Linked DNA regions of Homo sapiens: regions 2, 3, 4, 5, 6 and 7 are each linked to region 1. Evidence: promoter capture Hi-C in 16 types of primary human blood cells and fetal thymus (Javierre and others, 2016). All regions are on one chromosome and are shown on one strand. The core of a region is centred on a gene start or on the middle of the fragment in contact, and the rest is flanking DNA. Distances in the headings are between cores, read along the strand shown. Region 1 holds the start of EGFLAM-AS1 (EGFLAM antisense RNA 1). Region 2 overlaps OSMR (oncostatin M receptor). Region 3 overlaps OSMR (oncostatin M receptor). Region 4 overlaps OSMR (oncostatin M receptor). Region 5 overlaps OSMR-DT (OSMR divergent transcript). Region 6 overlaps OSMR-DT (OSMR divergent transcript). Region 7 overlaps OSMR (oncostatin M receptor).

Region 1 (4,139 bases), core at 463-2,962:
CACAACTTCCTGTAGTTTGAGTTTTCACTGCATTGTCTTAATTGAGCAAGAAGTCTTTGAAATGGTTTTCAAAATAAACAGCTTCCAATGGGGCATCTGAAACACCAAGAGTAATCACTGTTGTTAGCTTACGCTCAGGAGGGGATAGGATAAGGGGGCAGATGGTGGTTTGTCCCTCAGAAACTCTTGCCTCATTTTCATCACCTAATTCTTAAAAATTCTTTTTCCAGTTGCCTTTGCTGACAGGCAGTGAAACAATAACTTAGTAAATTTACAAAAAAAAATTAAAAGCACCTCGTGTCAAAAATAAGCACAGAGTTATGAAAGAGAGAAATGCTGGACTTCTAAGGGTTCCATGTGCTTGTGACCCCACAGCTGGAGCTGCCACTGCAGAGAGGCAGTGTGGAGGGGGTAGTCTGTCCAGGAGGAGGGCTGATGAGCCCAGAACCTCTCCTGGATCTTTCTGGTCATTCCCTATCCAGGAAGAAAACCATTTAAAAGTGCAAGGTGATATTCAAGGTGTCTTCCTTTGTCAACTTGACATACAGTTCTAAGTGAATTGCTTAGGCTATTTTGCATAATCATATGTAAATTGAATCAATTAAATCCCCACCAAAGTTGTCTTGAAATATAGGATGTTTTTGCATAACCAGAGGTACAACAATATTTGTCCGTTCCCCTAGAGGGGAAGGTGTCACTGATGTGCAGGAATTCAGCCACAAGGACAAAAACAAACCATCCTTTTTAAGAACTGTTAAAACCTAATGCAGTGAGCATTTTCTATCAGCCAGGAAAAATGATCAGTAGTTAAGGGCAATGCATGGTTGTAGCATCTCACCTACATACTCTTTTTAAACATGACAGTCTAGCAATATGGATAAAGATTGAAAACAGTTTGCAATATTCTTTGAAACAACAGACTAACTGATACCCTGTTACAGGGCACCATGGAGCAAAACATCCTAGTGAGTTTCAAAAAAGACGAATTAGACAAATGTAGGAACAAGAAGCATGTCTGCATGCGATTAGTGGCCCCTCTGGCTTGAAGGTTAAAACTACCATCAACACAATAAAAAGATGGGAGACATAAACAAATAAAAGCGTCTGCATCTACCAACTACAGGCTCCAAGGAACAATCGACCTGCTAAGTAATTTAATAGTACAAACTAGATAACAGTAGGAAAGTTTTGACTACTTACACCAATTCTGCAAATACCAGCAAGTACTGCAGAAGCACCCATTTCCTGCTATGCTATTGAAACCACTCATCACACATCTTTCTTGAGCATATTGCTTAGGGAACGGGTCTCTGCATTGCTGATGATTCACTGTCAATTTCCATTAAAGAAATAGTTCAAGAGGAAAGTGAATATTTAGAGTGAGGTCATCAAGGATATTTTTGTTCAAAAATATTTGTTAATACTTTTTTACTAGTTGACATGTATTTGCTGGGTGCCCATCATGTGATGCTCTGTATGAGATGCTGACTAGTTACAGTTCATCAAGTTTCTGCGGATGACATGACATAACTTTAGGTGGAAATGGAGGCAGTTTACCTCCACCTGAAGCAAGTCCATTTTCCATAGTTTGAAGCATACAATTGCTACCTGTTGGGTAGTTATTTGAGAAAAGGAAGCCTTGTGGGCAGGAGAGCACTCTCTATAGGAAGCCTGTCATCTGCCTGAAGCAGGACAAGTCAGGACAAGTTTCAGAAGATAAGCATGTAGAGAAGACAGGATGAGTGTGAGCTGTTGAATGGCGATTTGGTTTTTTTCTGAAGCAGTTACTATTTGCCTTTTTAAGGGAAAGAGTCCCAGAAGTTTTCAGCCCTCACCTGAGGACACCGGTCCCAGAGCCACAGTCAAAGCGGAACTCCACGTGGCCCCCTGCCAAGTTGATGGACAGGAAGTCTTTGCTGCCTGTGTCATAGCTGTACAGGAGGACACCATCTCCTGAGTCTGGCCGAAATGTGATCTCAAATTCCATGAAGGAAAGGTAATGCTGGGGCTCCAGTGGCCAGGGAGTTGCAGCGTAAGATCTCAGAGACTCTCTGAACTGAGGAATGGTCAAGGTGAAAGCTGAAAAAACAAGCATGGTGTTAGAAATCCCTCTGTGGCAGAAACTGGCCAGATGTGCACCCATAGCTGTGTTCTTTCCCTCCTGGGTACAGACCTAAACTACAATTCCCAGCAGCCCTGCAGTTAGGTTGGTGGTGTGACTGAATTCTGGCCAGTAGAACATGGGTGGAAGAATCATAGAGCACCCTAAGTCTGGCCCCTAAAACTTCCCTCCATCCTCCATGCTCTTTCTCTCCTCTCACGTGCTGGCAGGATGCAAGTATCAGTGGAGGACTCTAAGGCCCTAGAAGAGCCATTAGATGGAAGGAAACTGTGTCCCTGTATAACTGTGTGGAGCAGAACCCCCTCTCTCACCACCATCTTTGACCTGCAGTGATTTTGTAATATGAGCAAGAACCAGCCTTGATTATGTAAGGCTACTGAAATATGAGCTGGTATGTAACAGCATTGGCTTACCCTGACTCACATGCCCTCTTTTAGGTGACATGAGATTTGAGATCACAAAAGTTTTCCCCAATATGGTATCTTAGGTCCAAATCTGAATTAGGGAAGAATTTGACTAGTTTTGTGATCTTAGCCTCAGTTTTATTTTCTTTTTATTTTAATTTCAGAATTCTGCAAAAATGATTTTCCAAAATCACTTTTGGAACCCTCCATGATTTTCCAAAATCTTTGAAATTTTCTGTTATTATTTGCCTGTGTGAGCGCACATATGTGTATTTGTGTGCATGTGTTTCCATGTTTATATACACATGTGTGTGCATGTATATATATTTACATACTCTCTGTATATACAGTATTAAAATGTGGCATAATTTAGTAGAACAGTACAAAAAAAGGTTACTTTTGTCCCATCACATTGTTAACGTTTCTGTGTCTACCTTCCCTATCTTTTTTTTTTTTCCCAAGATGGAGTCTCGCTCTGTCACCCAGATTGGAGTACAGTGGTGCTATCTCGGCTCACTGCAACCTCCGCCTCCTGGGTTCAAGCAATTCTCCTGCCTCAGCCTCCCGAGTAGCTGGGATTACAGCTGTGCACCACCACACCCAGCTAATTTTTGTATTTTTAGTAGAAACGGAGTTTCACCACGTTGGCCTCGTGATCCGCCCACCTCGGCCTCCCAGAGTGCTGGGATTATAGGCGTGAGCCACTGCGCCTGGCCTCATCTTCCCAATCTTTTATCAGAAATTGACAGAAATTCTAAAGAGCATGAGCCTGAGCTTTAAAGGCTTTGAATTCAGTCTGATACAAACCATACCAATACAGGCTTTTTAAAAGTTATTCAAGGGCCAAGAGGAGCCCACTGATTCTTAGCATCTTGAAATGAACATATGTTTGGCTGAGGGACGGAGGTGCCCTGCAGTAAGAAGTGCTGAAAGGCTCAACATCAGATGAGTGAGTTCTCATTACCAAACAAATTTTGGCACTCAGAGACACTCCAACCTTGTTTAAAAAGTTTCCCCCATCTCTCCCAACAAAGCAATGTTGATCCCATAAAAATGTATGGGGCTTTGTTAGATTTGTTAAAAGTACATTGATGAGGCCTGGCGTGGTGGCTCACGCCTGTAATCCCAGCACTTTGGGAGGCCGAGGCGGGTGGATCACTTGAGGTCAAGAGTTTGAGAGCAGCCTGGGCAACATGGTGAAATCCCATCTCTACTAAAAATACAAAAATTAGCTGGGCGCCTGTAGTTCCAGCTACTCGGGAGCTGAGGCAGAAGAGAATCACTTGAACCCGGGAGGCAGAGGTTGCAGTGAGCCGAGATGCGCCACTGCACTCCGGCCTGGGTAAGAGAGGGAGCCTTTGTCTCAAAAACAAACAAACAAATTAACAAAGAAACTATATTGATGATAAAGTACATCTACACAAATTAACATGCAGATAGAAACCGCCTTCAACTTGCTTCTTTCTCACCATCTTCACAGTGTCGACCTTTAAACCCAAGGGGACAGAGGCAAATGTAGGAGTCGGCTTTGATTGCTGTGCAGGTGCCACCATGGATGCACGAGGCCTCATCACAGATTCCACTGCTGCATTCCCCTAAATACAGAATGGGAA
Region 2 (4,304 bases), core at 1,501-4,000, 510 kb before region 1:
GGCACCAGAAGCATGAGCATAGGCAGAGCCATTTCCACCATGCTGACGGCAGGCAAGAAGAAGACAAAAATGAACCCCTTTCATGCTTGTTTAGAAATGTGACGGCTAGGCGCAGTGGCTCACGCCTGTAATCCCAGCACTTTGGGAGGCCAAGGCAGGCAGATCACCTGAGGTCAGGAGTTCGAGAACAGCCTGACCAACATGGTGAAACCCCATCTCTACTAAAGATACAAAATTACCTGGGTGTGGTGGTGCATGCCTGTAATCCCAGCTACTCAGGAGGCTGAGGCAGGAGAATTGCTTGACCCTGGGAGGCGGAGGTTGCAGTGAGCCAAGGCTGCACCATTGCACTCCAGCCTGGGCAACAAGAGCGAAATTTCATCTCAAAAAATAAATAAAAGTAAAATAAATGTGACAAATAATGTGACAAATAGGCTGGGCATGGTGGCTCACACCTGTAATCCCAGCCCTTGGGGAAGCTGAGGCAGGTGGATCACCTGCGGTCAGGAGTTTGAGACCAGCCTGGCCAATATGGTAAAACCCAATCTCTACTAAAAATATAAAAACTAGTCAGGTGTGGTAGCATGCACCTGGAGTCCTAGGTGCTCTGGAGGCTGGGGCAGGAGAACTGTTTGTTTGAATCTAGGAGGCGGAAGCTGCAGTGAGCTGAGATTGCACCAAAAGAACCAACATGTACTAAAATACCAGTTGTGTACCAGGTGCTTTGCATATATTGGTTTGGGATATATTGGTTCAGAGGAGACAAAGCTGCTCCAGAGCCAACACGGAATTTCCCACTTCATAGAACTTTTTAGTTATATCTAAATTATGTCCAACAATGAGGTTTCATTTTACTATTTTAGCATAATATGAATATAAATGTGACTGAGAGTTATCTTGACCCAGACAACCTACTGCAGAGTCCAAAGGATGCTAAGTGAAAACAGGTCATTTATATATAGTTCTTGAAAGAAAAGAGGAACCAAAAACTGTGACTGGAATTATGTGATATACGTTCCTTTTTATGTTCTGAGGTAGTCATCAAAAATGATGGCAGAATACTGATGTCTATGGAGCAGAAGTACAACTGACAGTAAGTCAGAAGTTACTTGCCAATCCCATTCTTTCACTGTAGTAAGCTTGACAGAAGAATTGTGGAAATCTTGTTGATTCATCACACATTTTATATATTAGATTAGAGCTATGCCCCCCGCCCCCACCCACAGAGTTAATTTTACTGTGTCAGTGAACTATAGATTCTTATCCGTTCAAGGTAAGTCTAAAATCTGTTTTGGCCTCAAACACCTGTGAGTTTTTTATAAAACACGCTCAGTAAATTTACATTTGACAATCTATGCTATAGTAATGTCTCCTGTGGCCTTTATTAAAGCCTTCAATATAATAATTGCTGTTAATGGAAATATTTCCTCAGTAAAAACTGAACTTCTAGGACCACAGCCACCCTGTACAGTACTGAGTGGGAGTCTGTAGAGTGGTTAATGCATATCCTTAGGTCAAGCTCAAGTCTCCTGTTCTAAAGGTGAGCCTGGAACAAACAGCAGAAGGTAAGCATGCTCCCATGATCCTGCCGTCTCTAGGGCAAGCTTGCTCCAATGGGGAGTGTTAAGTTCCATAGCCTCTGGCCTTTAACCTAGCCAGACTGTAGTGGTCTTATATAAACCAGACCTGCAAATCGTACTGGGATTAAGGACCAAGGCCACTGGTGATGACAGGGTGCCAGCTCTGCTCTTCTTAATGTCTGTGTAGCATAAGGTATGAAATCGGCATGCTGGTTAGCAGTAGTGTTCACCTGGATCTAAAAGGGTAATTGAGGAGAGGCTGCTATTCTCGGTCGGGGGAGGCAAGGCAAGACGCAGGGAGACTGCCATTTGCATTTTATACTCTGAACAGTGTGGTGCCTCTACTGGGTTTGTTGGGAGACTGTCCTTGTCTCCAAACATGGGTGAAGCCAACTGGGACACATAATTCAAACTTGTTTCTCCAGCTGGGATTTCTCCCAGGGAGTTCATGTAGTTTTTTTCTAGTGCCTTTAGTACATTTTCAGGTGAGGTCATTAGTCCCAGCATACTTGGGGCTTTTGGGGATACTGGAACATGGCCACAAGAGCCAGAGTCAGAAGCTGCCTGGTTATAGGTCAAGTTCTCAAAACAGATGCAGGGGCCAGGGCCAGAGTGATTCTTTTCTGTTGGAAGGAGATAAAGGTAGTTAGGCTTAGTCAACTCGGTTTCTGTGAGTGACTTCCTAGTGCCTAGGAACTGTATCTTTGTCCCTTCTGGCTTGCTTACAACTTCAATAGCATCTGGGATACAGTCACTGACATTCATTATTATTAGGTGAGGGTTCTCCTAGAAAGGAAACAAAAATATGTAAATATAGACATTTGTGTGTGTGCATGCATGCATCAAAGTATATTAAGCATGTGAAATACACTTAGAGCTTCAATGTTCTTCATGTTTCTTCCTGGTCACAAGTAACCTGGAGGTGATGTTGAAAACCAAAAGATTTCCCCTGACAGAAGAAATCAAAGCTCCAATCACCTATTTCATGGCTGTGGGTGCAAAGATGGCTTTTACTGTGCTATATTTTCCTGAGGAGCTCTAGGAAAGTAGGATTCTGACAGCCCCCACTCTGGGTTAGTCCTTAATAGGTATATGGTATACATACAATTTGCCAACATTTACCTTGAATTTTATTAATGACAGGATGCTGCTCTTGTAAGGGTCAGGGATGTCAGGATAACAGGTCTCCTTGATCCTAGAAAAAAAAGCGAAAATGAGACTGAATTTCACAGTACAGTGGACGAGTTAAGAGCAAGAACTCTGGAGTCAGATTCCTGGCTTCTAATCCTTGCGTTGTAACTTATTAAGCAAGTTACTTAATTCTTCCATGCTTTAATTTCTTATGGCTAAATGGAGATAATTATGGTACTTATAGTGTCCCCATGAGGATTAAATGAATTAATTGATAAAGCACTTAGAACATTGCCAAACATACAGTAAGAGAGATATAAATATTAGCTATTGCTGTTGAAAAAATTTTGTGGTCTATTTTAAATGGTGATTAGTTTCCTCATATAGCCACTTGGAAAACAAAATTGTGAAATAAATTACATACTCTCACCCCAGCCTCCTTTGTTCTTTTCCTTTTTTATACGTTGTTTCATATTATTCAATGTCATTTCTATCTTACTAAATCTCTTTCCAGACTTTTCTCTTACTCTCTTCTTGGATAAAACCTTCCTCACACACTTACCACTGACTTTTCAAGTAGCACATGACCATGATGAGCAAGACGCAGAAAACCATGGGCAGTAGGATATGAATCAGCATCGAGGCTGAACGAGGAAAAAGAAAGGGACATTTTTAATAAGTACTTTTCCCTTCCTCAAAGGAATAAATACAAGTTTATGATTGAAAGTAATTTTACATGTTTATTATTTCTCAAATTATGTATGCAAGTTGTAATATGAATTCTGCCTGACTTCAGGGGAAAAGCCAACCAACCAACTAGCCAACCAACACAGGAAGCCATTTGCCATCAACACCGTGTGTCTCAAATTTGTTACTATCTATCTCTTCTGATAGATTGGATCATGACTTGCTGTATTAAAATTATGCTTTTCCACCCCTGCCAAAACTTCATGGTAGGTGAGAATACTATCCTGCCCCTTGACTTGGGGCTCAGCCATGTGCATTGGCTTGGCCAATGGGCTGTTGGTAATTGTAACGTAAGTGCTTTAAATGTGCATGCATACATCGGCTTGCCCTCTTGTGTTCCTCAGCATGAGAAGTGTGTGCCCCAGGTAGCTGCTGCGACTTCAGCCTTAGCCCTAGAATGAAGATGCGTGAAACAAATCTGAACCTGACTGAAGCTTGGAGTCCAGCTTACCCCAGTCTAGATCAGCCAAGTCTCGGCTGACCTGTAAACCCATGAGCATAAAAAGATAGATTTGTTCTTGTATGCCACGGAGCTTTTGAGGGTGTTTGTTACACATCAAAAATTGACTAGTGCACTCCTTCTAGTTAGCCTCAGATTACATAAATATGTCTTAATCTGGGAAAATGATTACGTTTATTTCTCCAATATGTCAACTGGTGCTTCATTTATTTCAAATGACCATTGTGAAATCTGTTAGAACCAAAATGTAATCACTAATGGTAGGAAACCCTGACAAATAGAGCTGGGAAGGCCACGCAGATAACAAAAAACACTACGAAAACCACAACCTTGCACAAAGGCCATCACAACCTTACACACACACACACACACACACACACACACAC
Region 3 (4,191 bases), core at 1,514-4,013, 470 kb before region 1:
AAAACCTGAACAGACCAAAAACAAGTAACAAATTTGAACTTGTAATAAAAAGTTTCTCAGCAAAGAAAAGCCTGGGACCCAGTGGCTTCACTGCTAAACTCTACCAAACATTTAAAGAACTAATATCAATTCTACTCAAACTACTCTGAAAAACAGAGGAGGAGGGAATATGTCCAAAGTCATTCTACTAGGCCAGTATTACCCTGATACCAAAACCAGAGAGAGACAGATAAAAAAATGAAAACTACAGGCCAATATCACTGATGAATATTGATACAAAAATCCTCAACAAAATACTCCCAAACCAAATTCAACAACACACCAAAAAGATCATTCATCATGACCAAGTGGGATCTATCCCAGGGATGCAAGGATGGTTCAACATATGCAAATCAATAAATGTGTTACATCATATCAACAAAATGAAGGACAAAACCCATATGATCATTTCAATTGATGCTAAAAAAGCATTTGATGAAATTCAACATCCCTTTCATGATAAAAGCACTAAAAAAAAAACGGGTATAGAAGGAACATATGTCAACACAATAAAAGTCATATACGACAGACCCGTAGCTAGTATCATACTGAATGGGGAAAAACTGAAATCCTATCCTCTAAGATTGGGAACAGGACAAAGATGCCCACTTTCACCACTGTTATTCGACATAGTACTGGAAGTCCTTGCTAGAGCAATCAGACAAGATAAAGAAAGGAAGGGCATCCAAAATAAAAAGGAAGAAGCCAAATTTTCCTTGTCTGCAGATGATATTATCTTATATTTGTTAAAACTTAAAGACTTCACCAAGAAACTATTAGAACTGATCAACAAATTCAGTAAAGTTGCAGGATACAGAATCAATATACAAATATCATTAGCATTCCTATATGCCAACAGCAAAAAATTTGAAAAAGAAATCAAGAAAGTAATCCCATTTACAATAGCAACAAGTAAAATTAAATACCTAGGAATTAACTTAACCAAAGCAGTGAAGTATCTCTACAATGAAAACTACAAAACATTGATAAAAGAAATTGAAGAAGACTCAAAAAAGGAAACATATTGCATGTTCATAGATGGGAAGAATCAATATTGTTAAAATGTCCATTCTACTCAAAGCAATCTACATAGTTACTGCAATCCATATCAAAATACCAAAGACATTCCTTACAAAAATAGAAAAAACAATCCTAAAATGTATATGGAACCACAAACCCAGAATTGCCAAAGCTATCCTAAGTAGAAAGAACTAAACTGGAGGAATCACATTAGCTGACTTCAAATTATACTATAGAGCTATAGTAACCAAAACAGCATGGTAATGGCATAGAAACAGATACATAGACCAGTAGAACAGACTAGAGTACCCCAAATAAATCCAAACATCTACAGTAAACTTATTTTTTACAAAGGTGCCAAAACACATACACTGGGGAAAGGACAGTCTCTTCAATAAATAGTGCTGGGAAAACTGGATATCCATAAGCAGAAAAATGAAACTAGACACCGATTTCTAGCCACATAAAAAATCAAATCAAAATGTGTTAAAGACTTAAATCTAAGACCTTAAACTATGAAACTACTACAAGAAAACATTGGGGAAACTCTCCGAGACATTGGAATAATTTATGCAAGTAAAATTTCTTGAGTAATACCCAACAACCACAGGCAACCAAAGCAAAAATGGACAAATAGAATCTCATTAAGTTAAAAAGCTTCTGCACAACAAAGGAAACAATCAACAAAGTGAAGAGACAAACCACAGAATGGGAATACATTTTTTCCAAACTACCCATCTGATAAGGGATTAAGTAACCAGAATATATAAGAAGCTCAAACAACTCTATAGGAAAAATAATCTCATAATCTGATTTTAAAATGGTCAAAAGACCTGAATAGACATTTCTCAAAAGAAGAAATACAATTTGCAAACAGGCATATGAAAAAGTGCTCAACATCATGGATCATCAGAGAAATACAAATCAAAACTACAGTCTAGCTAGTGGTCTATCAATCCTGTTTATCCTTTCAAAAAACCAGTGTTTGGTTTCATTGAGCCTTTGTATGGGTTTTGGGGTCTCAATTTCATTCAGTTCTGCTCTAATTTTAGTTATTTATTTTCTTTTCTAGCTTTGGGGTCAGTTTGTTCTTGTTTTTCTAGTTTCTCTAGGTGTGATATTAGATTGTTAATTTGAGATCTTTCTAACTTCTTGATGCAGGCATTTAGCACTATAAACTTATTCTTTACACTGCTTTTGCTGCATCACAGAGATTTTGGTATGTTATGTCTCTGTTTTTGTTTATTTCCAAGAATTTTTTAATTTCTTCCTTCATTTTGTTGTTTACCTAAAAGTTTTTATTTTTTTTTTGCTTTTATTGAGACTTGATTTATGGCCGAGCATCTGGTTAATCTTGCAGTATATTTTGTGTGCAGATGAGAAGAATGTATATTCTGTGGTTGATGGGTGGAGTGTTCTGTAGATGTCTTTTAAGCCCAATTTGTCCAGTGTTGAATGTAAGTCCAGAATTTCTTTGTTAGTTTTCTCCCTCGATGATCTAATGCTGTCAGTGTGGTGTTGAAGTCCCCAACTATTTTTTTGTGGTTGTGTGCTTATCTAAGTCTCTTTGTAGGTAATAAAATAAGAAGTACTTGTTTTATGAACCTGGGTGCTTCTGTATTGGGTACATATATATTTAGAATCAATAAGTCTTCTTATTGAATTGAGCCCTTTATCATTATGTAGTGCCTTTTTTTTGTCTTTTTTAACTGTTGTTGGTTTAAAGTCTGTTTTACCTGATATAAGAATATCTTTTTGCTCTTTTTGGTTTTCCATTTTTATGACAGATCTTTCTCCAACCCTTTACTTTGAGCCTATAGATGTCATTACATGTAAGATGGGTCTCTTGAAGATAGCAGACAGATTGGTCTTGTTTTTTCTTTTTTTTTCTTTTTCATTCAATAATTAATTTAATTCACTGTGCCTTTTAAGTGGGGGTGTTAAGACTGTTTACATTCCAGATTTATATTGATATAGGAGGTTTTGATCCTATTGTGAAGTTGTTAGCTGGTTGTAGTTTCTATTCTGCGGTTCCTTTATAGGGTCTATGGGCTAGGTACTTAAGTGTGATGTTGTGGTAACAGGTATTGTTCTTTTGTTTCCACATTTAGAACTTCCTTAAAGATTTCTTGTAAGGTTGGTCTAATGGTAACAAATTCCCTTAGCAATTGCTTATCTGAAAAAATATTTTATTTTACCTTCACATATGAAGCTCAACTTGGCAGGATATGAAATTCTTGGTTGGAATGTCTTTCCTTTGAGAATGCTGAAAATAGACCCTCAATCTCTTCTGGCTTGTAAGGTTTCTGCTGAGAAGTCCACTGTTAGCCTGATGGGGGTCCCTTTGTATGTGATCTGACCTTTTTCTCTAGTTGCATTTAAGATTTTTTCTTTAGTGCTGGCCTTAAACAATCTGGTGCCTATATGCCCTAGTGATGTTCGTTTTGTGTAGAATCCAGCAGGTGTTCTCTGGATTTCTTGTATCTGGGTGTCTACCTCTCTAGCAAGATTACAGAGGTTTTATTCTATTATTCCCTCAAATTTGTTTCCCAGATTGATTACTTTTTCTCCTGCTCTCTCAAGAATGCCAACACTTTGTATGTTTAGTGGCTTTACATAATGCCATATTTCTTAAAGACTTTGTTCATTTTTTAAAATTATCTTTACTTTTGTCTGACTAGGTTTGAAAAAATCATTCTTGAAGCTCTGAAATTCTTTCTTCTGCTTCATCCAGTCTATTAATAAAGCTTTAAATTGTATTTTGAAATTCCTTAAGTGAGTTTTTCAGTCCCAGTAGTTCTAATTGATTTCTTTTCAAGATGTTTCTCTTTTTTCATTTCCTGGACTGACTTAGAAGTTTCTTCATGTTGATTTTCAACTTTGTCTTGGATCTCTTCGAGCCTCCTTACAATTGATGCCTTAAATTCTTTATCTGTCATTTCTGAGTTTCCATTTGGGTTCAGGAGCTAGAGTGATCCTTTGATGTTGTCACAACATTTCGATTTTCATGATGCCAGAATTCTTATGCTTTTTCCTTCTCATCTGGAGGGGGTAAGGTCTTTTGGCTTTGCACCTATAGCCCTAGGTACTTCTGTCAGCAGGTTTCATTTGGAGCTGCATGGCTTGGCCTAT
Region 4 (4,255 bases), core at 272-2,771, 490 kb before region 1:
GTAAGTTAATTTCTCAAATCACCCAGGTGAAAGTAAAAGTGAAGCCAAGATTTGAACTCAAGGTAGTTAGGGTCTGGTCATTCCATTATTCATCTTTAGAAAATGGATGGTCAATTGAAGGCTCAGCTTGCATGACAAGTTCAACAAAATTCTCATTTAAAAAAAATCTCAGCAATGGAAAAATAATGAAATCATTGCAATTTATTTTAAAATCTTAAAAAGGCACACGTTTTAATCATTGATTGATAAAAATATTATGAAAGTCCTATTAAGATGAGTACATCTTTTCGTTTGTAAATTGTTTTGTTGGATTTATGTAATACTCTGTATTCCACATAGAATCAAATTTTCTACTGATACAATTTTGTCATGGTATGAACTTCACAAGAATAGTACAACAAGAAGTAGTCAAAAGAGAATTTAAAACATTCATAAGCCACAAGAAATATCAGGCTTTAACTGATGAAGATATAGATGACCCAATTATAGCACATCCATGGAGACAAACAAGAAAGGGACTCACAGGTATTGATGTCATTCTGCAACTGAGTCCTAACAGCACATCTCATTTTTAAATCCAGACATAAAAAACATCTTTATCTCTCTACTCAATCACATTTTGTGAACGTGCTGCTTCAGCTTTCTGAATTTGAAAATACAACTATAGCATGTCTCATATGACTTCTATTTTTAATGTTTACTTTGAAACTTCCCTTTAATTCTTAAAGATAGCTTGAATATTTTAGCATAGCCCCTAATAAAAATAACTGAATTAAATTCAAGTATCTAATTAAGAGAGTTAGTAGCACTGCTACAAACCTAAATAACTTTTGTGATAACAAAAATCAATTTAAATACAAGATGTGATATAGAGTTGTTAGTTTCATAATCTAATGGTTTAATAGTCCAGATTCCATTTTAGAGTAATGATATAAAATCCAAATTACTTATCAGTAGGTTCCTTAACTTTACATGAATTATTTTTCTTCCAACTCTTCCAACTTTTCTTCCAACTCTCAGTTTGCCAAATCACAAACTTTATTTTAATCGAGAAAAACATCCTTTTTGAAAGGTGCAAATCAGTATTTTACCAGTCTACTATCATTGATAGGGTTTACTATATTTCAAAATACATATCCCAGTGCTGTCAAATTTTTGAGAAATTATGATTTCATTAAATTAGAGTTGGTTATGAAAACATAAATTCAAAGTCCATCACCTGAGTGCTACTTTAACCTCCAGACTTCTTTGTGCATGCTATTATGTTCTTGAAAGTAATTTAGCATATTTCCATATAACTCATTCATGTGAAACCATAGTCAAATACTTCATCATTCTGTAGTTAATAATCAAATTTAGTGAATCATATCCCTCCCTATTACATTTTACTTTCCTTTGAAATACTTTTAAAAATACTTCCTAGAAACTCTCTTTTTATAATTTTATTTAGAGTCAGGGAGTACATGTGCATGTTTGTTACATGGGTATATTGTGCAATGCTGAGGTTTGGAATATGAATGATCCCATCACCCAAACAGTGGGCATAGAACCCAACAGTTAGTTTTTCAACGCTTGCCCCCTCCCTTCCTTCCCCTTCTAGTAGTCCCCAGTGTCTATTGTTTCTATCTTTATTTTCATGAATACCCAATGTTCAGTTCCCACTTAAAAGTGAGAACATGCAGTATTGGATTTTCTGTTCCTGCATTAATTCGCTTAGGATAATGGCCTCCAGCTACATCCATGTTGCTGGGAGGAACATTATTTCATTATTTATTCCATGGTGTATATGTACCATATTTTCTTTGTCCAATCCATCATTGATGGGCACCTAGGTAGAGTCCATGTCTTTGCTATGGTGAATAGTGCTGTGATGAACATATGCGTGTTGGTAGAATGATTTATTTTCCTTTGAATATATACCCAGTAATGGGATTGCTGGGTGGAACAGTAGCTCTGTTTTGAGAAATCTCCAAACTGCTTTTTACGAAGGTTGAACTAATTTATATTCCCTCCAACAGTGTATAAGTGTTCCCTTTTCCCTGCAGCTTCCCCAGAATCTGTTGCTTTTTGACTTTTTAGTAATAGCCATTTTGACTTGTGTCCTCATTAGAAAAGGCAATAGATGCACAGAGACGCTCAAGAGAATACCCTGTGAGCAGACATAGATGACCATCTACTAGCCAAAGAGAGTGGCCTCTGAGAAACAACCTCAGCCAACAGCTTGATGTCAGATTTCTAGCCTCCATAATTATGAGACACTAAATTTCTCTTGTTAAAGTCCTTCAGTCTGTGGTACTGTGTTATTAAAGCCCTAGAAAACTGTTACAACCTATTAATACACATGGAATATATTCCCTGCATCATGGTTGAAATGAAACCAGAGTTTTATTATGTCAGGCTCCACTTGCATTTGAGATCTGAAGCACTGTGGAAAATGGCCTCCCTTAAGAAATATTATGAAGACATGTGAAGAAGGCTCCTGCCCTGATGGGGTTACAGGGATGAGTTCTGTGAGATGACACATTGCAAACAAATGCGTACAGTAGCTTAACCTTCCCCCTTTTTGTGTAACACCTCCTTCTGTGCAAAAACGTTCTTGTAAGAACATTGGCTTTTAATACTTACAGAAGGTCTAGCAGGACAGTGGTGCTGACTGCTACAGAAGCTACCTGGGGTAGCTAAAGAATAAAAACAGTAACAACATGCAAAGATTTTTAAAAATAGCCTTTCTGATTGGTGTGAGATGGTGTCTCATTGTGATTTTGATATGACTTTTTCTGATGATTGGTGATGTTGAGCATTTTTTAATGTTTTTTGGCTGCTTGTATGTCTTCAGAACTCTCTGTTCATGTCTTTCACCCATTTTTTTTTTTTTTTTTGAGATGGAGTCTCACTCTGTCGTCCAGGCTGGAGTGCAGTGGCACGACCTCTGCTCACTGCAAGCTCCGCCTCCTGGGTTCATGCCTTTCTTCCACCTCAGCCTCTTGAGTAGCTGGGACTATAGGCAGCCACCACCACGCCTGGCTGATTTTTTTCTATTTTTAGTAGAGACGGGGTTTCACCACGTTAGCCAGGATGGTCTCAATCTCCTGAACTCGTGATTCTCCTGCCTCGGCCTCCCAAAGTGCTGGGATTACAGGCATGAGCCACCGCGCCTGGCCCTTTTGCCCACTTTTTAATGGGGTTGTTTGCTTTCTGCTTGTTGAATTGTTTAAGTTCCTTATAGATGCTGGATATTAGGTGTTTGTCAGGTGCATAGTTTACAAATAGTTTCTCACATTCTGTAGGTTGTTGCTTACTCTTTTGATAGTATCTTTTGTGGTTCAGTAGCTCTTTAGTTTAATTAGGTCTGACTTGTCAATTTTTGTTTTTGTTGCAATTTCTTTTGAAGACTTAGTCATAAATTATTTCCCAAGGCCAATGTCCAGAATGGTGTTTCCTAGGTTTTCTTCTAGGATTCCTATAGTTTGAGGTCTTACATTTAAATCTGTAATTCATCTCGAGTTAATTTTTTCTACATGGTGAAAGGTACAGGTCTAGCTTCATTCTTCCACACATAGCTAGCCAGCTATCCCAGCACCATCTATTATATTAGGAGTCCTTTCCCCATTGCTTATTTTTGTTGACTTTGTAGAAGATCAGATGGCTGTAGGTGTGTAGTTTTGTTTTTGGGTTCTCTATTCTGCTTCATTGGTCTATGTGACTGTTTTTATACTGGTACCATGATGTTTTGGTTACTGTAATCTTGTAGTATAGTTTGAACTGGGGTAATGTGCTGCCTATTGCTTTGTCCTTTTTGCTTAGAAATGCTTTGTCTATATAGGCTCTTTTTTGTTTCCATATCAATTTTTTGAATAGTTTTTTTCTATTTCTGTGAAAAATAACATTGATAGTTTGATAGAAATAGCATTGAATCTGTAAATTGCTTTGGGGAGTCAGTGATTTTAATGATATTGATTCTTCCAATCTGTGAGCACGGAATATTTTTCTATTTCTTTGTGTCACCTATGATTTCTTTCAGCAGTGTTTTCTAGTTCTCCTTGTAGAGATCTTTCACCTCCTTGGTTAAATGTATTACTAGATATTTTTGTGTATGTGAGTATCGAAAGTAGGATTGCGTTCTTGACTTGGGTCTCAGCTTGAATCTTATTGGTGTATAGAAATACTACTGATTTTTGTACATCGATCTTGTATCCTGAAACTTTGCTGACTTTTTTCTTTTAATCAGATCTAGGAGCTTTTATGCAGAGACTAT
Region 5 (4,123 bases), core at 1,476-3,975, 410 kb before region 1:
GTTGTTAATGCTAAAGTTTAGAACATTAATACAGTGAGAGAGAAATACTTTGGAGAGAATTAGATGGGAACTTTCTGGATATTTGAAAACTATTGGCTTAAGGTTGATCCGAAATAAGTCTATAGTTGTGTTTATATTTAAACTGAATCTCTTACAGAAAACATATAGTTGAGACTTTTTTTTAGAAGTTGACTGACAATCTCTGCATTTTAATTTGATAGAGAGTGTTTAGTAGACTTATATTTAAGGCAGTTATTGATATGCTTGTGTTTAGCCTACCATTTTACTATAGGTTTTGTGTTTTGTTCTCTCTGGTTTTGTTTTTTTATTCTTCTTTTTCTTCTTTTTTTTCTGGACTATATAAATACTTTTTATCTTTTTATATTTCCATTTTAATTTTTTTAGAGTTGGGGTCTCACTCCATTGCCCAGGCTGGTCTCAAACTCCTGACCTTAAGCGATCCTTCCGCCTCAGCCTCCCAAGTAGCTGATATTACAAGCATGAGCCACCATATCTGCCTTTGAACGCTTTTTAAATTTCATTTTTATTTGCCTTTGTCTTTTTCTTATTTCTCTTTGCATGATGTCTTAATGTTTTCTCTATGGATTACAGTGTACATTCTTAAATTTCACTGTGTACTTGAAATAGTATTGTACCTTTTCACTTAATAGGTCCATTTAACCACACACCCCATCCTTTACACTATAGTTGTAAAGTGTATTACATCTACAGACAAGATAAAACCCACAATATAGTATGTATTTTAAAGAAATTAAGAGGAAAACTACTCTTTTATATTTATACACATATTTACCTTTAATGTTCTTAAATCCTTCCCAAAGATCTAAGCTTCTCTCTGGTAGCATTTCTGTAAGCCTAACAAACTTACTTTAGTATATTTTTTATTGGAAGTCTATTGGAGATACATAGTATTAGTCTTATTTTATTTGAAAATATCTTTATTTCACTTCGTCCTCAAGGAATATTTTTGTTGGATAGAATTCTATTTTCTTTCAACTATTTAAAGATACTGTTCTACATTTTACTGCCTTTCATTGCTTCTGATGAGAAGTCAGCCATTATTTGATTCTTCTTTCCTCTGTCAATATAATGTGTCATTTTTTCTCTGGTTTAAATATTTTCTCATTATCTTTGATTGTCAATAGTTTATCAACTATGTGCTTAGAAGTTTTAAAATTATTATTTACCCTGCCTGGCATTTGCTAAGCTTCTTGAATTTATAAATTTATGTCTTTTACCAAATTGGAGAATTTTTCAGCCTGTATATCTTTTTAGTACCTTTTCTGCACCATTATCTTTCTTATCTTTTTGAAATTCCGACTACAAGTATGTCAGACCCCTTAATATAGTCCTAAATGCCCATGAGCCTCTGTTGTTTTTCAACTTTTTTTCTGTGCTCTTCAGATTCAATAATTTCTATTGAACTATCTTTAAGCTTACAAATTCCTTTTGTGTTATATTCGTTGGGCTATTATATCCATCTAGTAAATTTTGTGTCATATATATGGTATATTTCAGTTCTAGAATTTCAATCTGTTCTTTTAAAATATATTGTCTATTTCTATACTGGTTGTCCCTATTCTTTTTATTATTATGAACATATTTTCCTTTGCTTCATTGAGCATAGTTATTATAGTTGCTGCTTTTAAAACATTGCTTCATTATTCCAATATTTACATCATCTTTTAGTCAATCTCCACTGATTTTTTTCTTTTATAAGAATGGATTACATTTTCCTGTTTTTTTTATTTACCTATTTTTGGATTGTCAAATAATTTTGGAGTGCAACCTGTGCGTTATAAATATTATGTGATGAAGATTCTGTTCTATTCCTCCAATGACACTGATTATCTTTTAAAATGGCAAGCAGTGTGGTTAAACTCAAACTGCAAACCTGATATTGCTTACAGTAAGTAGAAGCTCAAATCTGAATTCACTTTTTAATGTTGACCAGGCTGCTTTGAGTTTGCCTTGCACAAGCATGGTTCAGAGATTATCCAATAATTGGTATTTATTTTAAATACAGAATTTGGGCTTCTTCCTCTCTTGCTCCCTCCTTTATGTTTTCCCGCCTCACTTTCCAAATAATGTTGTTGCTGTGAACCCTGACCCCTGGTTCTTCAAACTAGAAATATTGCATATTTTCTAACAGAGTTTTAGCTACCTCACATTGCACAGACATGCACTAGTCTTGGGCTGAGGGTCATAAAATTTGGGAAAGTTGCTCCATGCCTTTCCTCTGCCAAGTGTTGACTTTCCTCCACAATCTGCCTGGTGTTGGTCACTCTCCACTGCCGATAATTGTTTTTAATTTTTAACAATATTTTTCTAGTGTTTTATATTGTTATATGTTGGGGAGGGGCAGTCAATTAAACAGAGCTACTCAGCAATGGCTGAAAGTAGCACTCCCTGCAATTGTAGTTATATCTGCTAAGTGGCTAGGTTATTGGGAGGAGCTAGTATGAACTGTTTCCTTTGCTAAATTAGATTTCTCTCCAGTAGAACATTCTTTTGGATGCAACCCAGTTTTTCAGAAGATTGAAATACATTTGCATAGACCTAAATCTGGAAATTGAGTAAAAACCTTCTGAAATCAGGTACGGTTAATCTATTATGGCTGAACATCACTTTAGAATGAAGGCTTAAATAAATATTAATACCACTATAATACAAAGGAAAGAATTTTAATCAAAAAAAGAGAATAGTTAAATGCATTCTTGGATTTCCTCTGAACTTTGTTCAAATGCTAAACACAAAATTCATTTGAGTGAGTTACAGTAAGCTATACCTTTATGTTTGTTACCTTATTTGTGCTTAACTTACCTCCATGTACACTAAAACAAAAACTTCCTAAAAGCACTCACTTTTATACTCAATCTTATCAGCTACTTAAATGTAGCTCCTTTTGTCCAATTATACTGTGGCCTATGATGCTTAGTCACTTTGGAATAATGGTCAGATAGTTTTCATACTCCCACGGGAAATATATGGAGAACAGGCTAGGGAAACATGTTTATTCAAATTTAATACGAAGCAACCAAGCTAAGAGAGAAAATGATAGCACACCCAAGAAAGAAAGAAATGTTATTATATAAATTTTCTTAGCTCTCAAACCACAAATAATTATAAGAACTTATCTTCCTATCATAAGATCATGGAACATGATGCCTAAACATAAAATTGTAAATGTTTGTTTTGAAAAAGAAGACAGGCTGGGCATGGTGGCTCACCCCTGTAATCCCAGCACTTTGGGAGGCCGAGGCGAGCAGATCACCTGAGGTCAGGAGTTCAAGACCAGCCTGGCCAATATGGTGAAACCCTGTCTCTACTAAAAATACAATAATTAGCAGGCGTACTCATGCATGCCTGTAGTCCCAGCTACTCCAGGGGTTGAGGCAGGAGAATCGCTGGAACCCAGGAGCTGGAGGTTGCAGTGAGCCGAGATGGTGCCGCTGCACTCCAGCCTGGGCAACAGAGCGAGACTCCATCTCAAAAAAAAAGAAGACGACAATAGGCAATTTCTTCTGAAAATCTTCCCTGTTTTTAAAAAGAATAAAAAAGTTAAAGAATATTCTGCTTGACTGGATATTTAGGCTTACAAACATCCATACTTGCAAAATTATATACACACACACAAACACACGAATGCTCATTAGAAGAATATTGTAGTAACAAAGAACTACAATCTAAAAATCTGCTAATAGAAGACTGAAAACTATGATTCATTCTTTCAAAAGAAGGAAGATTATATATGTGTGCACCTATGGAAATATGTCCATCATGCACAACTCAGTGAAAAAGCAGAAGTCAGAAATGTATATATAGTATATCCATTTCATCTATTTAATTTCTTAATATTTATGGAGTAGATACATAAGAATGTTCTGGATAGGATTACAAGAAATTGGTAACAAGTTATTCTTGTGGAGAAGGTCTTTATAAAGATGAAGGATGAGGAGTAAGAGAAGCTTGTGCTTTTCAGAGCTGTCTGTGCAGATTGGCTTTTTATCATTGGTATTTTTACTTCTTAAAAATAATGATTTTTGAAATCAAAGAATGCCTTGCTAGAAAAGAAGCATCACTTGTTATTTTTTGAATGTTA
Region 6 (4,291 bases), core at 801-3,300, 370 kb before region 1:
CCTCAGAGCTAATAATAACACAGAGAAGTTAAGTAACTTGCCCAGGGTCACACCACTGTGCTTCTGACTATGAGTGCAGGAAGCCTGAGCTCCCACCAAGACCCACTCCACCCTCGGCCTGACATGAGGCTGGTCTCAACTCTATTCATCTCCAGTGAGGAGCTAGATTGTCCTTGAGTCCCTCCCAGCTCTAATGTTTACAGTTCTGCTGCCCCCGCCAGCACCTAGCAGAGACATCACATAGTGGGTGGTCTGGTGCTATGTACTCGGAGACCGATTGTTAAATCAAGGAATTGATTTCAGACTACAACGAGCACAACAGAACAAAGAGGGCAGACAGTTGGAAGCCACGACCTGGGAGGGTGGCTCTGCGTGGAAAGATGACCAGGTGAAAGGGATGACGTAAGAGGAACGTTTGTGCATCCCTTTGTGCTTTTGGCCCTTGGGTTAGCTGAGTGAATGGGCAGAGGGATGTGTCAAAGTCAGCCAAAGGCTACTTTCACTGAGGATGTGGAAAGCTGACTATCCCTGCATAAAAGAAGTGTCAGGAATTTGGGCAAGTCAAGCCTAAGAGCTAGAGAAAAGATGAAAAAGCCTCTGGAGTGGGTGTGACCCAAAAAGTAAAAAATAATTCTACATGACTGGAATTTTCCACGGCCACTGGATGTTAGGCCGGTAATGTCTGACGTTCAATTTTAAGTTGATGCCTGTGCTGTTCTGTGTGGTAATAATCCTTCATTAGCACTAAAATATCCGTGAAAGTCTGTTGCACACACAGTCTTTTGTTAGTGGTGCTTTGAGGGAATGAAGTAATAGGAATGGCGTTGGTAACGGAGAAAAATAATGAGGAAGACAGATGATGCTTGCAGGAGATAGCACAGAGAGCAGAGACAAAACATTTAGGAGAAGCAGGAAGAGGTGTCAGTGGAAATATGAGTCCCTCAGGAATCCTCAGATGTGTTGGCTGAACACGAGGCTTAACGAAAGTTAATTGAACATATGAGAGAACAGGAAGATCCTCAAGTCTGAGGCACCTGGGACACCCAGGAGGCCAACATGTGGGTTACTCAAGGTAAAAGAAGAAATTGAGAGAAAAGGTACAAAGTATGATTTCCCCAGTGAAACACAGAGTAATAAAAAGGACACTTCTTAATCTGCGTAGGTTTTAAGAAAAAGAAAAAATCCGAGGTAATGCCTTCGTCCACGCAGGGGTTAGATGACATAGCTCCACCTCAGATGTTCCTCAAGTCCTGTGTATGCCCTAAATAGATCTCCAATTCTGGTGAAAATTGGAATTACGGGGACTTTTCAGAATACTACTGTCTGGTCCCACTGCAGGAAAAGAGGCTGATGTCTTTGGGTCAGCAGCTGGCCTGTGCATGGGACTTTTAAAAGCTCCTCAGGGCTGGGCACAGTGGCTCATGCCTTTTATCTCGGCACTTTGGGAAGCCAAGGTGGGAGGACTGCTTGAGGCCAGGAGTTTGACTTGAGACCAGCCTGGGCAACATAGCAAGACCCTATTTTTTTAAAAAAAAAAAAAAACTAGCTGGGTGTAGTGGCGTGGGACTGTAGTCCTAGCTACTCAGGAGGCTGAGGTAGGAGGATCTCTTAAACCCAGGAGTTTGAGGCTGAAGTGAGGTAGGATTGTGCCACTGCACTCCAGCCTGAGTGAGAGTGAGACCCTGTCTCTAATAAAAAAGCAAACAAACAATAACAACAACAAAAAGAAATAAAAGCTTCTCAGGAAATTTACTGTGTAGCCAAGGTTGGAAACAACTGCCTAGAGCGCTATGCAACGAACACACACCTGGAGACAGGAGGGCGACAGCAATTATGTAGAAAGGCTTGAGAAAGGAAAATAAATCTTGGGACCCCAAAATCACTAAGCCAAAGGGAAAAGTCAAGCTGGGAACTGCTTAGGGCAAAACTGCCTCCCATTCTATTCCTAAAACAGCTACTAAGATAAAAAAGTTACACACCTCCCTCACACTTTGCCCACAAGGAAATTAAACTCTAAGTTATCCCCCCTGCTTACGTGAGACAAATGCATATCTGATTGCTTCCTTCGCCCTATTGTTTAATGCAACCATTCGTCTTTTATCTACCTAAGACCTGGACCCTTCCCACTTCGAGGTGTCCTGCCTTTTCGGACCAAACCAATGTACACCTTACATATATATTTTTTGATGTCTCGTGTCTTTCTAAAACGTATAAAACCCAGATGTGCCCCGACCACCTTGGGTATATGTCGTCAGGGCCTCCTGAGGCTATGTCATAGGCATGTCCTTAACCCTGGCAAAATTAACTTCCTAAATTGATTGAGGCTTGTCTCAGATACTTTTTGGTTTACAGGCTTTAAGCTTCAACCAAATGTGTGTTTTCACATTTCTTCGTTTTAAACTTATTTGTTGGTCACATCGTATTAGGTGAGTGTGAGGAAGCTAGTAATAGGAACATTAATATCAGTTATAATATTCATACTGATTTGGGAGTGCCAGGAAGGGAAGAGCGTGGTCCCTTTAAATGATCTGGAAAGGGGGAGGGGAAGTGCCGGGTAGAGGAGGGCGTGGTCTCTGGCTAGGGCTCTACCCCCACGGACCTAGGTGGGGACAGGCACTCCTGCATTCCTGCTCAAATGTTGCATTTTCCAGGACCACTCTGGCCCGCGACACCCCCATCCTGTGCCTATAAAAACCCCGAGACCCTAGCAGGCAGACACAGGTGGCCAGACGTTGAGAGGAGCACATCAGTGGAAGAAGACACATGAAGCTGGTGGGCGAGAGGACGTCTAGGGGAGCATGCTGGTGGCACACCGACAGGCCGTCCACCAGCAGGCCATCCACCGGTGGAATGAGGTGGAGTTTGGCCGGGGCAGTTGGAGGAGAGCCCGGGCCACCGCAGCCCACTCCGGGGGAAACCAGCTCCCTTCTGGCTCCCCCATCTGCTGCGGGCTACTTCTGCTCGATAAAATCTTGCACTCATTCTCCAAGCCTAGGTGTGATCTGATTCTTCTGGTACACCAAGGCAAGAAACCCCGGGATACAGAAACCCCTCTGTCCTTGTGATAAGGAAGGGGGTCTAGTTGAGCTAACAAACAAGCTGCCTACAGATGGCTAAACTAAAAGAGTATCCTGTAACACATGCCCACTCGGGCTTCAGGAGCCATACACATTCACCCCTAGACACTGCCGTGGGGTCAGAGCCCCCACAGCCTGCCCTTCTGTATGCTCCCCTAGAGGTTTGAGCGGCGGGACACTGAAGAAGCGAGCCACACCCCCATCGCACACCCTGTAAGGGGGACAAAGGAATTTTTCTCGTTTCAGTACTAAGAATGTTACCCAGAATAAAGAGTGGGCCTTTTCTTGCATAAAATCCTAGCAAAAACTCCAAGAGAAAAGCGGGGACATTGGATCACAGTCGGTAGAAGGTACCTTAGGATCTCTTGGCATCTGGGTGATGAAGGCAGAGAACAACATGATAGGCTCAGAGGTCGGGGGGGCTTCAACTATCCTCAGATATCCCCCTCTAATATTGGGACTAGAAGTTCATAGCTTTAAAAGTAGGAAAGAGCTTTAGAAATCATCTAGTTAAACTTATGTTGTTAATAGATATTTTTTAAAACTGAGGCTCCATGAAGTAAAGTATCTGACCCAGGAAACCCAGCCATTTAGCTGCAGAACCAGAAGTAGGGTGGAATCTTTGAACAACTGGCCTATTACCTCCCTACCCTTCAGATGCAAGGGTTGATACTCAAGTGCCCTTAGGAGCAGTCACCTGACCTAAATTCACACCCAAGTGTTCATGACTAACATAAAATGTTTTCTTTCCAGGAGGTAGTGATAGCTGGGTGGAAGGCCTTAAACTTAGGAACCTTAACAAGGGGAAAGAAAGGAAAATGTCAACACTGATGGAAAAAGTCAAAGAAGGGTGGCTGGGCAGGAGAATGAGGGCAGAGAGATTTCCATAGCATGGGTGAGTACTGGGCCTCCAGAGATGAACATGAGGCCAACCCTCCCGGGACATGGGAAGCAGGAGAATGACTGTGTTGAATATGTTTACAAATGGACACATATTAAATTAACAAGTGCCAAAAACCACCCACCCACCCTCAGCTCAGAGGAAGCCCCCAAAGCCTGGCCCCAGATGACTCAACCCCCTAACCAAGAATCACTTGCATTAAGGCTATTTCTGCTTCATCCAAAAGGTTTTCAGTGATGTTGAGAGTCAACAGGAAATTAATCAGCAAGTAGAAAATTGAAAGAAGATCTGCATCTTACTGCAGGAGTCATTA
Region 7 (3,747 bases), core at 150-2,649, 450 kb before region 1:
AGGCAGATCATGAGGTCAGGAGTTTGAGACCGGTCTGACCAACATGGTGAAACCCCATTTCTACTAAAAATACAAAAATTAGCCGGATGTGGTAGTGCGTGCCTGTAATCCCAGCAACTCAAGATGCTGAGGCAGAAGAATCGCTAGAACCCGGAAGACGGAGGTTGCAGTGAGCTGGGATTGCGCCACTGCACTCCACCCTGGGCAACAGAGTGAGACTCCATCTCAAAAAAAAAAAAAAAAAAAGGAGCAAATATTTCCTCTCTTCCCCCAGACCCCTGCTAGAAGGAAGTACATCAATAATGGCAACTTCGCTCTAATGCCAACAAGTCACAGACTGAACTTTACCTCCCTTCTGTCCCTTAAATGCAGCCACTTCTCTTACCCGCATCTCCGCTTTGGCTGAACCCTACAGCTCGCTTCCTAGCGGCCACACATCCCTTGCCCCAGTTCCCCACCACATTCCGCTGTGCGGCTATTCAAATCAGAGCTTGCCACTTCCTTTGTTCTTATTGCCCTTGGGATAAAAAAACAAAACCTGAGCATGCACTCCATGGTCCTGTGCATCTAGGCCTGTGCCCCTGTCCTCATGTGCTTGGGGATCCAGCACCACAGCGGGCTTTCAGGCCTGGAAATTCCCTTCTCTCAGCGCCTCTGCTCATGCCTGTTGGGCCTGCTCAGAGCACTCTTTTCTACTCTACTTGCTAAAGTAACTTCTATCCTCTTGGATATTTGGTCTCAAACAGCCCTTTATCCAAATTGTGGGAGAAGGTGAGGCCTAACCCGAACCTCATAGCATCTCATCAGTGACCTGCACACACAGCCCGTGTGTAGAATACCCTATGCGTGTGTTCACCTCCTCATTCTTTCCAGTGTGCTCAGCGCTGACATTCCCACACTGCGCACAATGCCTGATCTGGGAGCACAGGCTAAAACTCTGGACTGAATGATTTAATCATTTCATTAATATGCAATGAGTTGTATTTCCCCCAGACACTATTTATGTGTGGAACCTGTTTAACCTCAACTTCTGCTTTGTGGTCTTTACAGCCCTGTTAATGTAGGAGATAAAACTTTTCCTTAAGTACTGCAATTCATTGATTTTTTTTCTTTAAATATGATGAATTGTCTTTGGGTCATTTCATTTATTGAAGTGGCAGGTTTAATTTGATCCTTGCAGACATCAGTAAGTCACAAGAAATTGGCACACACATTTACACAGAAGTCTAATAGAGGTCACTGATTTGTTACTGAGACATTTGACTCCCACACCTGGCCTCCTTCCAAGCTTGAGCTCTTACTCTACTTTGCCTTCCTATGCCATTGACAAAATCAAAAAGCAAAGGGAAGGGGAGGACCATGACCCAGGAGGGCAGGACCATGCAGTTCAGGGTTCCAAATGGCCAGTACCATCCAGGAGACAGGTCGGTGCCTCTGGTCCAGCTGCAAGTGCTCTTCCTTTGACTTGTTTGGGAACAGAGGTGTCCGAGACATTGAGTCCAGAAGCTTCCCCCCAGCCCCCAGCATGAATGAGAGTGCCCTGTCAGGCTTGCACTACAGGGAGCTTCCCTGTATAAGGGAGATTTTGGTCTAAACAGAAGCAGCATCCTCCTCCTTAACTGGAGGAGGATAGTTCTCGTCAACTTCAGGCATGAGTGATTCAGACAAGCATTTCTCAAGGCATCATCTATTCCATAGGACATGTGTCCACCGATGGCCTGGGGGCTGCATGTGACTGTCATCCCTTTCTGGGCACAGGAGTGAAGGATGATCCCACCCTGCCTCTGTCACCTGGAGCAACACAACAAACCTCTCTGTGCTGTGGTTTCTCCACTGTTGTAGTCAGGCTGGGTTGGGTGTTGTGAGGACAACACGATAGACAAGGCAAAACTCTACCCTGAAGGGTCTTGAGCCCTAGAAGATTACAGAAATAGTCCACACTAGCTGCTTTCCCTTGAAAAGAGGACTCTTACGGGAATCAAATATGAAAACAGATATGAACAACTGCTTTTTAGGAAAATAAATAAAAAAATCCACTTGGTGTATGGCTAATATTATTTTTTGTAACATAATAATAGATATGAGTTGTCTTTTGGAAAAATAAAGAATAGGATCCATGTAGTCTATGGTTAATGTTATTTTTGCTAACGGTGCTAAGTGCTAGTTTTCCACAATTCCTCCAGCACTTCCACCTCAATTTTTCTTTTTGTAGATAATCCTTAGTCTCAATATGACCTTTGCTTCAATGTTTTACCGGGCCCAAATTACCAACAAGTGTACCCATTAAAAATACAAAAATCAGACTTGCTAGTATAAGGTGAGATAGTGGAAAGATGTGTTGATAGCAGGGAGTAAACAGCTACACAGAAGTATTGCTGTTGTTGAAAATCATCATACTAAATAAGTCTCATTGTGGGAAACTGCCCTTTGAGAGGTAGAATTATAGACTAGGTATGAATCCTAAGTGGACAGAGTCAAAATTTTATTTAACTTGCGCAGATCTCAAATTTCAATAATGAATATGGAAAGTAACTGAAGATGTTAAAATTAGTGACTTGTATGCCTTACCAAAGGAACTAACCATGCTGTATGTGTGTACCCAAAGCCTCCACTACCTGGGTGAAGACAGGAGCCTGGTTGAGCTGACAGAGGGCCCAAGCACAGTCCTAGGCTTCTCTTACCTGTAGGAAAATTTTCAGTTCCTTTAATGAGAAAACATTCCACTGTCCTTAAATATCCCGTGAAAATGACTGAACATTATGTGCATATAGATTACTAGAGTTCCCAGATGAGAAATGGAAATCATAAACCACTCATGTGTCCTAGTGCACTAGATGGGGACACCTCAGGCAAAACTGACCCAATAATCATTTGAACTAAGTGAAAAATCCACCCCAAAGAATTCAAAGACAAAAAGAGTGTGAAAGTCAGTATTTTCTTAATTTAATTTGTTGTGGAAAAAGCCACATGTAAGGCAACAAAGGACACAGGAAGTTACTCTCCAACATGGCTCCTTGTTGGATGGAACATTAAGTGCTAGCACTTACTCTTCCCTGCACTTCAGCTGGGTATAGGCCAAGAAACTCTCAGGAAGCTACATTGGAAAGAAAAATGTTGCCAAATTATTACATCTTATTTAGGAAAATCTCTGGAGGACGGAGAAGAAAGAGGTAGGAGGAATGAATTGGTTAATCTTCGTGGCTCTCTGGAATTCAGTATTCACGAGGACAGACTCAACAGTCTTCTTAGAAGACAGAGCAAAACTGAGAAAATCTATTTTCTTAGTGCATCCCATCCTACCTACCAAACCAAAGTTGTCATGTTACTTTGTCCTGGATCATTAACAGAAAATGCAGAAATGTAATTGTTTAGACAAACTGTTTTGAGCTGCTAATATATTTCCAAAACGAGAATTTTTCAGATGTTATAAAAGAAAACCAAGGTGTCTTTTTTTAAAGATGATTTTTTAAATATTGAGCCAAAAAAATTACTTACCACCCAGATGACATTGGATGTTTCAATCCTACTGATCTGGATCTGAAATACCATTTTCAATTCCTGATGATAAGGAAGGTTGTGGACAGTCCATTGTAAGTGCAAACTCTGACGCGTAGAATTGGTGGAAACTTTAAGTGATACAGGAGTCAATGGTAAACGTTCAGCCAAGACTGAAAAGATCAAAATGAAGTATGAAATAATATTTAATAGGAGCATGATTGAAGAGTCAGAAATAATTAAACTTGAATA

What was found. Contacts are between HindIII fragments. The CHiCAGO score rates a contact against its expected background, and 5 or more counts as called.
Region 2: a contact is called between a fragment that was not itself captured here and the fragment with the promoter of EGFLAM-AS1 in region 1, in 1 of 17 cell types (naive CD8 T cells). The highest score is 5.4, in naive CD8 T cells.
Region 3: a contact is called between a fragment that was not itself captured here and the fragment with the promoter of EGFLAM-AS1 in region 1, in 1 of 17 cell types (M1 macrophages). The highest score is 5.8, in M1 macrophages.
Region 4: a contact is called between a fragment that was not itself captured here and the fragment with the promoter of EGFLAM-AS1 in region 1, in 8 of 17 cell types (naive CD8 T cells, total CD8 T cells, M2 macrophages and 5 more). The highest score is 9.2, in naive CD8 T cells.
Region 5: a fragment that was not itself captured here is called in contact with the fragment with the promoter of EGFLAM-AS1 in region 1 in 4 of 17 cell types (M1 macrophages, M0 macrophages, M2 macrophages and 1 more); the score reaches 9.5 in M1 macrophages.
Region 6: a contact is called between a fragment that was not itself captured here and the fragment with the promoter of EGFLAM-AS1 in region 1, in 8 of 17 cell types (M0 macrophages, M1 macrophages, M2 macrophages and 5 more). The highest score is 9.7, in M0 macrophages.
Region 7: a contact is called between a fragment that was not itself captured here and the fragment with the promoter of EGFLAM-AS1 in region 1, in 2 of 17 cell types (M1 macrophages and total CD8 T cells). The highest score is 6.0, in M1 macrophages.

The regions. Positions count from the first base shown.
Region 1 is chr5:38,424,949-38,429,087 of GRCh38, reverse strand. EGFLAM-AS1 (EGFLAM antisense RNA 1) reads left to right here and starts at 1,712. Exons shown (of 2, transcript NR_046737.1): 1 at 1,712-1,996; 2 at 4,007-4,139. EGFLAM (EGF like, fibronectin type III and laminin G domains) reads right to left here. Exons shown (of 22, transcript NM_152403.4): 13 at 3,996-4,121; 14 at 1,836-2,079. RefSeq lists an enhancer at 1,291-2,490. The HindIII fragment of the contact is 14,108 bases long and covers 1-4,139 here.
Region 2 is chr5:38,930,934-38,935,237 of GRCh38, reverse strand. OSMR (oncostatin M receptor) reads right to left here. Exons shown (of 18, transcript NM_003999.3): 16 at 3,274-3,355; 17 at 2,703-2,775; 18 at 1-2,366. The coding sequence ends at 1,794. Among named protein-coding and RNA genes, the nearest start is that of OSMR, 87 kb to the right of the region's middle. RefSeq lists an enhancer at 1,612-1,781. The HindIII fragment of the contact is 2,288 bases long and covers 1,607-3,894 here.
Region 3 is chr5:38,893,160-38,897,350 of GRCh38, reverse strand. The region is part of intron 7 of OSMR (oncostatin M receptor); the gene reads right to left. Among named protein-coding and RNA genes, the nearest start is that of OSMR, 49 kb to the right of the region's middle. The HindIII fragment of the contact is 2,090 bases long and covers 1,719-3,808 here.
Region 4 is chr5:38,912,174-38,916,428 of GRCh38, reverse strand. The region is part of intron 9 of OSMR (oncostatin M receptor); the gene reads right to left. Among named protein-coding and RNA genes, the nearest start is that of OSMR, 68 kb to the right of the region's middle. The HindIII fragment of the contact is 6,135 bases long and covers 1-4,255 here.
Region 5 is chr5:38,836,460-38,840,582 of GRCh38, reverse strand. All of the region lies in intron 1 of OSMR-DT (OSMR divergent transcript), which reads left to right. Among named protein-coding and RNA genes, the nearest start is that of OSMR-DT, 7.3 kb to the left of the region's middle. The HindIII fragment of the contact is 2,533 bases long and covers 1,459-3,991 here.
Region 6 is chr5:38,796,383-38,800,673 of GRCh38, reverse strand. OSMR-DT (OSMR divergent transcript) reads left to right here. Exons shown (of 4, transcript NR_109951.1): 2 at 4,205-4,291. Among named protein-coding and RNA genes, the nearest start is that of OSMR-DT, 47 kb to the left of the region's middle. The HindIII fragment of the contact is 624 bases long and covers 1,739-2,362 here.
Region 7 is chr5:38,876,122-38,879,868 of GRCh38, reverse strand. OSMR (oncostatin M receptor) reads right to left here. Exons shown (of 18, transcript NM_003999.3): 3 at 3,496-3,668. Among named protein-coding and RNA genes, the nearest start is that of OSMR, 32 kb to the right of the region's middle. RefSeq lists enhancers at 133-632, 633-1,134. The HindIII fragment of the contact is 218 bases long and covers 1,291-1,508 here.